Regions from separate parts of the Homo sapiens genome. Here all the other regions are linked to region 1. The links are contacts of gene promoters, found by promoter capture Hi-C in blood cells and fetal thymus (Javierre and others, 2016). All regions are on one chromosome and are shown on one strand. Each heading gives the region's core, a stretch centred on a gene start or on the middle of the fragment in contact. The rest is flanking DNA. Distances are from core to core; before and after follow the strand shown. Region 1 holds the start of H2AZ2 (H2A.Z variant histone 2). Region 2 has its middle 28 kb from the start of ZMIZ2. Region 3 has its middle 40 kb from the start of PURB. Region 4 has its middle 23 kb from the start of ZMIZ2.

Region 1 (2,818 bases), core at 234-2,733:
CCTGTGCACTCACATACATCCTTTAATTTTTACAACAGCTTCCGGGGGAAGGCGATTCCACTTTAGAGCTTTTCTTCCTTTCTAGCTGGGAGTTATCCTCCAAATTTTAACCTAATGATGTAAGCAAAATAAACACACTGAAGAGGTTGAGAAAAGAAAAACGGCTCACAACAGTCTGAGCTCTGTGAGGTCTGCAAAATGTATTAGGCCTAGAGGGACATGAGTATGGGACTTCGGTTATGCCCACCCTCTGCCCCCACATACACACATACCCAATCCCATGCATACCCAATTGTTTAAAGTCATTTCATTCCTGACTATCGGCCTCATCCATTACCTTTTTTTTTATTATTATTTTTTAGACAGGGTATATTCTGTCTCCCAAGCTGGAGTGCAGTGGTGCGATCATGACTCACTGCAGCCTCGACCTCCTGGGCTCAAGAGATCCTCCTGTCTCAGTCTTGACAGTAGGTGAGGCTACAGGTTCGCGCCACCAAGCCGGCCCCATTATCTTCGTGTTCTTAGAATTTGTAATACATGCCGGGCGCGGTGGCTCACGCCTGTAATCCCAGTACTTTGGGAGGCAAAGGGGGGCAGATCACCTGAGGTCAGGAGTTCGAGACCAGCCTGACCAACACGGAGAAACCCCGTCTCTATTAAAAATACAAAAGTTAGCTGGGCATTGGGGCGCGCGCCTGTAGTCCCAGGACTCCATCTCTAAAAAAGGAAAAAGAATTTGTCATACAAATAACAATATGTAGCCAATTGATAGCTTTTGTTTTTGTTTGTTTGTTTTGAGACGATGCGTCGCCCAGCTGGAGTGCAGTGGCGCGATCTCGGCTCACTGCAACCTCCGCCTCCGGGGTTCAAGCGATTCTCCCGCCTCAGCCTGCCGCGGACCTTGTCAGGGTCCGCGCTGAGAGGACGTCAGGGTAGTCAGTCCGCCAGAATACGGCTGAGCATGAGGCCTGCCTAACCTTGAAACCCAGCGCCCTCCTGATCCACACGTTCTAAGACGAATAAATCCTCACAGTCTGTGAAAACCCACCAGGAGAAGCACGTCCAACACTCTTTACCTCCCCAAACAAGTCTCAGAAGCGGGAAAACCAACGCCGCGAATGGGCGGGAAAGCCACAGCGCCTGCAATCGCTTCACCTTATTAGCTAATTTTGCTGTCCTTCCCAGTGGCCCGCCTCCCTTGCTCGCGGGCGATATTTTTATTGGCTTTCGTCTGCGAGGCGTCCAATCTCATTGGTTTGCCTTTCTGTTCGTCAGGCTTGGGCGCCTGGTGAAAGGCAGAGAGCGCGTCACTATTGGGGCTGGAGGCCCCGCCTCCGCGTGCCGTGTGCAAAAACAAACAGCCGTTAGGAAGGCGGTGCCGGGGGGGCGGGGTCTGGCTAGAAGGAGGCGCGCGATTGAACAGCCGCTGGGGTTCGAACCAGCAAGACAAGCGGGCATTGGCCACAGCAGCGCGAGGCGGGCACGGGGTATTGTCCGGCTCCGGCGGCGGCGGTCGGTGCTGCGAGAGCGGCGGCGGCGGCGCGGGTCGGCAGCGGGAGGGCGCGCGGCCGAGCGGAGGCGGAGTCGGCGCCGAGAACATGGTAAGGGCGGCCGGGTGGGCCGGGGGCACGGGGCCTGGGAGAGCAGAGCGCGGAGGCCCTGGCGTCGGCGCCGCTACCTGTGGAGTCGGGAGTTTGCGGGTGTCTGGGCTTCGTCCGGCCGAGCCCCTCGCCGCCCGCCGGGGGGCGCCATGTCCCAGCTGCGGAGCCCGACACGGGTCCCCGGGTGAGAGCTGGGCCTGGCCGGGTAGAGCGCGAAGTCTGTTCCGAGCCGGATAGATCTGTCCCGACGCTTGTGACGCTGCACCGCCCGTCTTAGAAGGAGGAGGACGGCAGAATCCGGCTTGGAAATGTAGAAACAAGTGCTGGATCTTAATGTGATCGCTTCTCTGTATGAATGAGGTCAAACAGGCTGCCGCTGTACAAGTTAGATAAGTCTTTGGCGATGTTTGGTTACGTAATCTCCCTGGCAGTCAGTTTGAGGGTTTCTGCGAAAGGGTGCTTGTATTTGTGGTCTTTTGAGCGACAAAGAATGGTTTTATAGACCAGAACCACACGATTTGTTCTAGGTGATTGCACAGGTTAGAAATGAACGCCCGTTATCTTCTGAGCCCCTTGCAGTTTGCGGTTTTCATTATACAACAGTACTTTCCTTTGCCCTTGCTATGGATTTTCAGTCTTAAAGTATTCATCTTTTCATTCTGAAATTCAGATCTAGATAAGAAGAGTGTGGCTTTAAAAAAATGAAAGTGAATAGAACTTCAGCCCCATTTTAAAGTTGAGGGGAAAAGAGAAGGTGCTAAAGGATACGCTCTGAGTTGCATCAAAGATTGTGTAAAAATAATAAGACTGTTATGGAATCTTATTTTTGCCGGTATTCGTGCTTTAAGCATTCTGTTGAAAGGTTACTTCAACGGGAGCTACCTGCTTAAAAGTTAGCACCAAGCTGTCATTTATCATACTGCAGATAGTATTAGATGATTTGTCTTGTGCTTGATGTGACAGATATGGTATTGAATAGACATAACACCTAACTGTAAACAGATTGGCCAGTCGAGAGGACAATGTTTGGTTATTGTAAAATACCCAAATCTTAGAGCTGGAATAGACTTTAGGGATAATTGCTTCCAACGTCTAACGTATAGTTTATTGTTATTGTAAAAAACCCAAATCTTAGAGCTGGAATAGACTTTAGGGATAATTGCTTCCAACGTCTCACGTATAGTTTATTGTTATTGTAAAGTACTTTATAGTACTTT
Region 2 (2,818 bases), core at 198-2,697, 130 kb after region 1:
CCACTGTGACTCTCAACTGTACAACTTGCCTGCTTTACAGCTAGGTAAGGCCTGGCACACATGGAGTTAGATGCTGGAAAGAGTCAGACCTTATCTGGACTTCTGTCTGAGTCCTAGGCTCTACACCTACTACATCATTAAAATCCCGAACTTACAAAGGTTGGCAGTAAAAGTAAAAGTCACTAAGAGTTAACACTGTAACATGTAATTGAGACTACTGAAGAAACAATTTTACATGCAAGGTGTGTAAAAAAGTGAAATGTGTTTTTGGTAAAAGATTATAAGAAGTCATGGGAATGTACATTTTTTTGACTAGATTAATGGGTTAAATGATTGTATTAAGTTAGATGGAATAAAGCTGAAGGTTTAAGCAAATTGTGGAAGGTTTGTAAAAAATTAATCCTGTAGACTGGGCATGGTGGCTCACTCCCGTAATCCCACCACTTTGGGAGGCAAAGGCAGGTGGATCACTTGAGGTTGGGAGTTCGAGACCAGCCTGGACAACATGGTGAAACCCCATCTATACTAAAAATACAAAAAAAATTAGCTGTGCATGGTGGCACACGCCTGTAGTCCCAGCTACACAGGAGGCTGAGGCAGGAGAATTGCTTGAACCTGGGAAGTGGAGATTGCAGTGAGCCAAGATTGTGCCACTGCACTCCAGCCTGGGCAACAGAGCGAGACTCCATCTTGGAAAAAAAAAAAAAAAACAGAAAAAAATAATAATCTTGTTAAAAAAATTCAGTGTATGGGCCAGACATGGTGGCTCACGCCTGTAATCCCAGCATTTTGGGAGGAGGCTGAGTCGGGTGGATCACTTGAGGTCAGGAGTTCAAGACCAGCCTGGCCAACATGGCAAAACCCAGTCTCTACTAAAAATTAAAAAACATTAGCTGGGCATGGTGCTATGAGCCTGTAATCCCAGCTACTCAGGGGGCTGAGACATGAGAATCACTTGAACCTAGGAGGTGGAGGTTGTAGTAAGCCAAGATCATGCCACTGCACTTTAGCCTGGATGACAGAGTGAGACTCTGTCTAAAAAAAAAAAAAATTCTGTGCGTGAATATATTGGCTAAAGTTAAGGGGATATTATTCAGTTTTTCTGTAAATTAAACATTGGAATAAAAGCAAAATATGTTTTTCTTAAAGCAAAAACCTGCTTATAATATGCTCTTTAACAAAAATTTGTAAAGGGTTATAAAAGGTTTATGAGAATCTTACCTTATGGTTAAACATTGACGTTGGGTAGATATGTCTATAAGGTTTTATTGAGAATTGGGTTTAACATTAATAATACACTAATGTAAAGGTGAAAGTTTGTCTTATTTGGTACAAAAATCATACAGGAAACATTGTCAAATTGAAATGGTATTTGGCTTTCTTGAGGCTGTATTTTTATAAATATGTTCTTGGTATGTGTTCCAAAATAATGGGAAACTCATAATTCAGATATGACTTAGTATATGTTATTAATAATTATAATTGTTACATAAAGTCATTGTATTCCACAGAGGTAACCAAATTTCTTTGTCAATTGTGTTGTTGACTGTGGCCGTCCTAAGACATTTTGTCATCCATAAATAATTGTTGTCTTGTTTTGGTCCTCTTTAGAAGGTGGTTTATAATCAACTATAGAACTCTAACAGATGTTCTTAAACGCAGGTTTCTGATAACTTTTGAGATTGTGACATTAGAGTAGAGGAAAATACTTTCAGGACTCTCATGAAGAGCTGAAATGTTCATGAATATCAAACAGGAGTTAACTGCATGTAATAAACTAATAGAAGCCTGAAGTAATCTTTTTTAACATTTGCTTAAAATGTTACTAATCCTTTGCTTTGTTTTTCAGAGTTAAGAAAAAATTTCTTTTTAGCTATTTACAGCTTTTAACAATTGAGTAAAGTGAACAAAATTTAGAGCATATTTGTTTCTCTCTACCTGGTTTCTCCAGAATTTGGAAACTAGTTGTGAGTATTCTTAACTTATGGTGATGTAGTTATTGGCATAAGTGCAATAAGAATCTGTTTTTAGCCAGGCGCAGTGCCTCACGCCTGTAATCCCGGGACTTTGGGAAGCCGAGGTAGGTGGATCACCCAAAGTCAGGAGTTCAAGACCACCCTGGGCAACATGGTGAAACCTTGTCTCCACTAAAAATACAAAAATGAGTCAGGCATGGTGCTGGGCACCTGTATGCTGTCCCAGCTACTCGGGAGGCTGAGGCGGCAGAATTGCTTGAACCTGGGAGGCGGAGGTTGCAGTAAGCTGAGATCATGCCATTGCACTCCACCCTGGTGACAAGAGCAAAACTCTGTCCCCGCACCCCCCCAAAAAAAGAGTCTGTTTTTGCAACAGGACACGATTGGAGAAACTGGTTATTTTAGGCCAGGTGCAGTGGCTCACACCTGTAATTCCAGCACTTTGGGAGGCTGAGGTGGGTGGATCACAAGGTCAGGAGTTCAAGACTAGCCTGGCCAAGATGGTGAAACCCCGTCTCTATTAAAAATACAAAAAAATGGCCAGGTGTGGTGGCTCACGCCTGTAATCCCAGCACTTTGGGAGGCCAAGGCGGGCAGATCACGAGGTCAGGAGTTCAAGACCCACCTGGACAACATGATGAAACCCCGTCTCTACTAAAAATACAAAAATTAGCTGGGCACAGTGGCACACCCCTGTAATCCCAGCTACTCAGGAGGCTGAGGCAGGAGAATTGCTTGAACCCAGGAAACGGAGGTTACAGTGAGCCAAAATTACACCACTGCACTCCATCCTGGGTGACAGAGTGAGACTCCATCTCAAAAAAAACCCCAAAAACCAAAAA
Region 3 (2,818 bases), core at 228-2,727, 78 kb before region 1:
ATCTGGTTCGACTTTTATGCAACAAAGTTGTGAGTTGTTTTTTAGCTGCCATGGACCCCCAGGTTGAAGGTCATGTAAACTGAGCACACCTAGATGAGTCAAGTGTACGACCACAGGGGCAACCTAAACACTCAGACCAAGGAGTGGGACTGAATTAAGGGCAGACACCACGTGGCAGGATTCAGGATCCAATCAGATGGAGTTGTGGTATCACTCCATGGCAGGATCCAGTCAGACCATGCCTTCTGGCATCACCTCACTGCAAGATCCAGTCAGATCACACTTCATTACTTTACGCTAATAAAACCCTACCTAGCCTCCAACTCCTTTTCTCAAAAGCCAAGGCCTTGATATTGGCTTGTATGCACATGGGACTGCAAGCCCATTGACCGCTTGGTAACAAGAGGAGGAAGGATAGTTTGCCGTGCTCTGACACTGCTTCAGCACCTTTTTCTTTCTCGCTCTGAAATAGATCTTCCACTTATGGAGAATGGGCCCTTTCCTACCACCCTAGAAGCTGGGAATGGGTGAGTCTGCACTCTGTTACTAAGACATTCAAATGTGTGACCTTAGCTGACAATCACTCTATCCCTACAAGGTAGGGCATGGTATCCTTACTCTCATTTTATAGATGGAGAAACAGAAATCAGTGATATATTTCCATCTAGGTTCTTGAATGATCACTTGGAGCAAATCTTGCCAGTGCTAATCATCAGAAACCTTACCTTTTCTTTGTAGGAGCAAAAAAGGACTCCTGTTCTGATGAGGTAGTATTCCTTCTAGAGTCAGTCATAGCAGGTGGCATTTTCCTAACTAATACACTAAAGATGATTGAGAACAGGCGACATAAGTAAATGAGGATCCAGGTGAAACTGTGAAGGAATATTACTTGTTTTCAAAGTATATTTTAAACACATATACCTTCTGTATTGGCAGGTGTGTGGGAAAGCAGACTCTCTGAGGCATGGCTGGTGTGAGTATAAATTGATTTAGTCTTTTTCTGAAGGTAACGAACAACATCTATAAAAATCAAGAATTCCCATAGCCTGATTCATCAGCTACTCTTTAGCAATTTACTTTGTAGTCATTCTCTAGAAGTATTCTGGAAAGACATGTTTAAAGGTATTCATCGTGATATTAATGATAAAATTTGGAAAACACATCATTTAGGTACAAACATCATAGCTGCTATGTATGGCAGTAGTTGGCCTATTTTCATAGTATAGTATTCCATTGCATGATTATTTTATTTCATTTTTTTCATTATTTCATTTTTGTTTTCATCATTATTTTATTTCATTTTTCTCCTGTTGATGGACATTTGGCTATTTCCAGTCTAGGGCTCTGGTAAATGCTACTGCACATCACATAAGCGTTTGTTTCTTTTGGGTGGAGTGGTGAGGTCCTAGCATGTGTGGATATTTATCTACTAAAGATCCTGCTGGCCAGTGCAGTGGCTCACATCTGTAATCCCAGCACTTTGGGAGGCCGAGGCGGGCAGATCACCTGAGGCCAGGAGTTCAAGACCAGCCTGGCCAACATGGCGAAACCCCCGTCTCTACTAAAAATATAAAAAATTAGCCAGGCATGGTGGTGGGCGCCTGTAATCCCAGCTACTCGGGAGGCTGAGGCAGGAGAATTGCTTGATGTCGGGAGGCGGAGGCTGCAGTGAGCCGAGATTGCGCCGTTACACTCCAGCATGAGCTACAAGAGCAAAACTCCATTTCAAAAAAAAAAAAAAAAGATCCTGCCAAACTACTTGCAAAGTGGCTGCACCAATTTAGATTCCCATCAGCAGCGGGGATGTTACTCCTGGTATTGTCAGTCTTTTTCATTTGATGGGTCTATGGGTCTGTACTGGTATCTTAGTGTGTGTGTGTGTGTGTGTGTGTGTGTGTGTGTGTGTGTGTGTGTGTGTGTGTGTTTGAAACAGGGTCTCACTCTGTCACCCAGGCTGGAGTGCAAGGGGTGCAATCACGGCTCACTGCAGCCTCCATCTTCTGGGCTCAAACAATCCTCACACCTTAGCCTCCCAAGTATCTGGAACTACAGGTGTGTGCCCCCATGTCCAGCTAATTTTTAAATATTTTTTAGAGATGGGGTCTCACTATTTAGTCCAGGCTGGTCTTGAACTCCTGGGCTCAAGCGATCTTCCTGCCTCAGCCTCCCAAAGTGCTGGGATTACAGGTGTGAGCCACTGCACCCCGCCTTGTGTTTTTATTTGCTTCTGCCTGATCACTGATGAGATTGAGCACCTTTTCAGGCATGTTGGCCATCTGGGTATCCTCTTACAGTTTTTGTTGTTGTTGTTGTTGTTGTTGTTTTGTTGTTGTTGTTGTTTTGAGACGGAGTTTCGCTCTTGCTGCCTAGGCTGGAATGCAATGGCGCGATCTCGGCTCACTGCAACCTCCGCCTCCCAGGTTCAAGTGATTCTCCTGCCTCAGCCTCCCAAGTAGCTGGGATTACAGGCATGCACCACCATGTGCGGCTAATTTTTTTGTATTTTTAGTAGAGACAGGGTTTCACCATGTTGCCCAGGCTGGTTTCAAACTCCTGACCTCAAGTAATCCGCCCATCTCGGCCTCCCAAAGTGCTGGGACTACAGGCATGAGCCACAGCGCCCCACCCCTTTTACAGTTTATAAGACCATACACTTAAGTTCCCTCCACCAGACCACATGAATAACAACATTTGTGTGTGAAAATTAAGATAACCAGTGTATAAAGGGACCAGCAAGGTGCCAGCTCCAGTCCTAGACAATACGGCATCCCTCAACCCCTTTCCCGTGTCCACAGTTCTCAGCTTGGTACCTGGCAGG
Region 4 (2,818 bases), core at 141-2,640, 76 kb after region 1:
AGTACTGTAATCCCAGTACTCAGGAGGCCGAGTACTGTAATCCCAGTACTCAGGAGGCTGATTCGCTTGAATCCAGGAGGCGAAGGTTGCAGTGAGCCGAGATCGCGTCACTGCACTCCCACCTGGAGGACAGAGTGAGACTCTGCTTAAAAAAAAAAAATTAGCCAGGCGTGGTGGTGTAAGCCTGTGGCCCCAGCCACCTGGGAGGCTGAGATGAGAGGAGTGCTTATGCCCTGGAGGTCAACGCTGCAGTGAGCTGTGATTGCACCACTGCACTCCACCTGACAGAGTGACACCCCCCCATCTCTAAAAAATAAAAAAAAAAAAGTGGGAAGAACAATCACACCACGGTTTAACTGATCAGCTACGATGGGAACTGTGAAAGGCATTCCACAGAGTGAATCAAGGCTTCAGGAGGAGGCCCTGACTTATCCTGGAGGCAGAGGGTTCTCCCAGGAATGGCGTCTTAGCTGAAGCCTGACCCAGAAGGTAGACGGGCAGGAACGAGGTAATGTGGAGACTGTTGGGAGCAGGCAAGGACTTCATCCCAAGGCAATGGGAGGCCCTCTGTACTCCCTCTTGTGATAACTGCTTCCCTTCTTTCGGGCAGTGCTCCTGACCCCACTCTAGCTGTGTGGGTGGGTCCCTACCTGGTTGAGTCAACCAGATCCCATCCCTGGGATTTTAAACTTGGAACCAGAAGGAGAGTGATCATCACCTCTTTTCTAGGGTGAATCAATGAGAAGTGAGGCTCCGAAGCTTGGATCTCAAGTTCACAGAAGCAGCTGGTTGAGGGTGAAGCTTGCACACAGAGGCCAAGGAAGGATGCCTACCCATGTCCAGCTGCCCCAGGGCCCTTTCAGGACTGCTATTTTGAGCCCCTTCCTTCCTTAACTGGTTTGAATTGGTCACCGTCACTTGCAACCTATTGAGTCCTAGCTAATGTACCATGACAGGGTTCAAGACTTGGTCAGAGAAGAGCTGGGGTATAGGATGCTGGGGAAGGGTACCCATTAATCCTCCCTTCTAAGTGGTAACTGAGAGAATGAACAAGAACAATATACAGTTAAATGAAAATAAAAAGGCACAGTGGCTCAAGCCTATAATCCCAGCACTTTGGGAGGCCGAGGCAGGCAGATCACAAGGTCAGGAGTTCGAGACCAGCCTAACCAACATGGTGAAACCCCATCTCTACTAAAATTACAAGAATTAGCCAGGCGTGATGGCGCGCCACCTGTAATCCCAGCTGCTCAGGAGGCTGAGCAGGAGAATCACTTGAACCCGGGAGGCGGAAGTTGCAGTGAGCTGAGATCATGCCACTGCACTCCAGCCTGGGCGACAGAGCAAGACTCCGTCTTAAAAAAAAAAAAAAAGAAAATAAACACAGACGCTTTAAGGATCAGTTAACAACAAGACACAGACTCTAATATTCACTGACATAAAGTTTCAGAAAGGGCAAAATTAATCTCTGGTGACAGGGGCCAGAACAGTGATGACCTGGGGTGGGGTGTGGGTTGGTCTCTCCTGTGAGGTTTGGAAGGGCAGGTACACACGCGTGTGCACTTACCAAAACCTACTGCACTGTGCATCCGACTGCACTGATGTCCCTGGCTTCTTTGAGGCAACTTGGGTGACAGGCCATCCTGAGCCAGTCATGTCTTGCCCTCCCACTCAGGGCAGGCAGGATGGGCTGTCTCAATGGCCCCCAAAGCCTGGAAGGCTGGAAGGGTGGCAAGGAGGAAACCCACAGTGGGTAGAGTTACAGGGGTCAGAAGTGGGGGCCACTGCCTGCTGGGGAAGGCCACTGGAGGAAGCTGGGGCAGAATGGGAGGGAAGCTGGCCCCTCACATGAATACGGGGAATTAGGAAGTGTTTTCTCCTCCACAATGTTTGGGAGAATTTGGGGATTTATGTCCATTCTTTAGCATTTGGTAGAATTCACCATCTGGTCCTGGGCTTTTCTTTTGTTGGGAAGCTTTTGATGACTGGTTCTACCTATGTGTTTTAGGTTGGTTCAGATTTTTTCCTTTTTCTTCTTTTTTTGAGGTCAGGTCTCTGTCTCTGCCTCATTCCTGGCTGGAGTGCAGTGGTGCTGTCATAGGTCGTTGCAGCTTTGAACTCCTGGGCTCTAGCTATCCTCCTGCTTCAGCCTCCCAAGTAGCTGGGGCTACAGGCACGTGCCATGACACCTGGTTGATTTCTAAAGATTTTGTCGAGGCAGGGTCTCTGTTGCCCAGGCTGGTCTCGAACTCCTGGCCTCAGGCCATCCTCCTAACTAGTTCTCCCCAAGTGCTGGGATCACAGGTGTGAGCCACTGCACCTGGCCCTGTTCAGATTTTCTATTTTTCCTGGGACAATTTTGGTCATTTGTATCTTTCTAGGAATTTTTTTGTTGTTGTTTTGAGACAGAGTCTCACTCTGTCACCCAAGCTGGAGTGCAATGGCATGATCTCAGCTCACTGCAACCTCTGCCTCCTGGGTTCAAGTGATTTTCCTGCCTCAGCCTCGTGAATAGCTGGGATTACAGGTGTGAGCCACCACGCCTGGCTAATTTTTGTGTTTTTAGTAGAGACAGGGTTTCACCACTTTGGCCAGGTTGGTCTCGAACTTCTGACCTCAGGTGATCTGCCTGCCTCGGCCTCCCAAAGTGCCGCGATTACAGGCGTGAGCCACCACACCCAGCCAAGATGTCGCATCTTTTTAAATGTTGGCATTTGCAGCTATAAATTTCCCTCAGAGCAGTTTTTGCCGCATTCCTTAAGTTCTGGTATGTTGTTTTCATCCATCTCTATTTCCTAATTTTTCTCGTGATTTCTCC

Evidence for each region. The method cuts DNA at HindIII sites, captures the fragments that hold promoters and counts their contacts. A CHiCAGO score of 5 or more calls a contact.
Region 2: a contact is called between a fragment that was not itself captured here and the fragment with the promoter of H2AZ2 in region 1, in 1 of 17 cell types (monocytes). The highest score is 5.4, in monocytes.
Region 3: a fragment that was not itself captured here is called in contact with the fragment with the promoter of H2AZ2 in region 1 in 17 of 17 cell types (total CD8 T cells, megakaryocytes, activated CD4 T cells and 14 more); the score reaches 22.4 in total CD8 T cells.
Region 4: a contact is called between a fragment that was not itself captured here and the fragment with the promoter of H2AZ2 in region 1, in 2 of 17 cell types (total CD8 T cells and monocytes). The highest score is 8.0, in total CD8 T cells.

The regions. Positions count from the first base shown.
Region 1 is chr7:44,846,752-44,849,569 of GRCh38, reverse strand. It overlaps H2AZ2 (H2A.Z variant histone 2), which reads left to right and starts at 1,483. Exons shown (of 5, transcript NM_012412.5): 1 at 1,483-1,601. The coding sequence starts at 1,599. H2AZ2-DT (H2AZ2 divergent transcript) reads right to left here and starts at 1,099. Exons shown (of 2, transcript NR_187581.1): 1 at 1,049-1,099; 2 at 5-111. RefSeq lists silencers at 1,148-1,207, 1,468-1,857 and enhancers at 784-1,342, 1,343-1,900. The HindIII fragment of the contact is 6,622 bases long and covers 1-2,818 here.
Region 2 is chr7:44,719,578-44,722,395 of GRCh38, reverse strand. No RefSeq gene overlaps it. Among named protein-coding and RNA genes, the nearest start is that of ZMIZ2, 28 kb to the left of the region's middle. The HindIII fragment of the contact is 5,346 bases long and covers 1-2,818 here.
Region 3 is chr7:44,924,351-44,927,168 of GRCh38, reverse strand. No RefSeq gene overlaps it. Among named protein-coding and RNA genes, the nearest start is that of PURB, 40 kb to the right of the region's middle. The HindIII fragment of the contact is 4,333 bases long and covers 1-2,818 here.
Region 4 is chr7:44,770,360-44,773,177 of GRCh38, reverse strand. No RefSeq gene overlaps it. Among named protein-coding and RNA genes, the nearest start is that of ZMIZ2, 23 kb to the right of the region's middle. The HindIII fragment of the contact is 1,174 bases long and covers 804-1,977 here.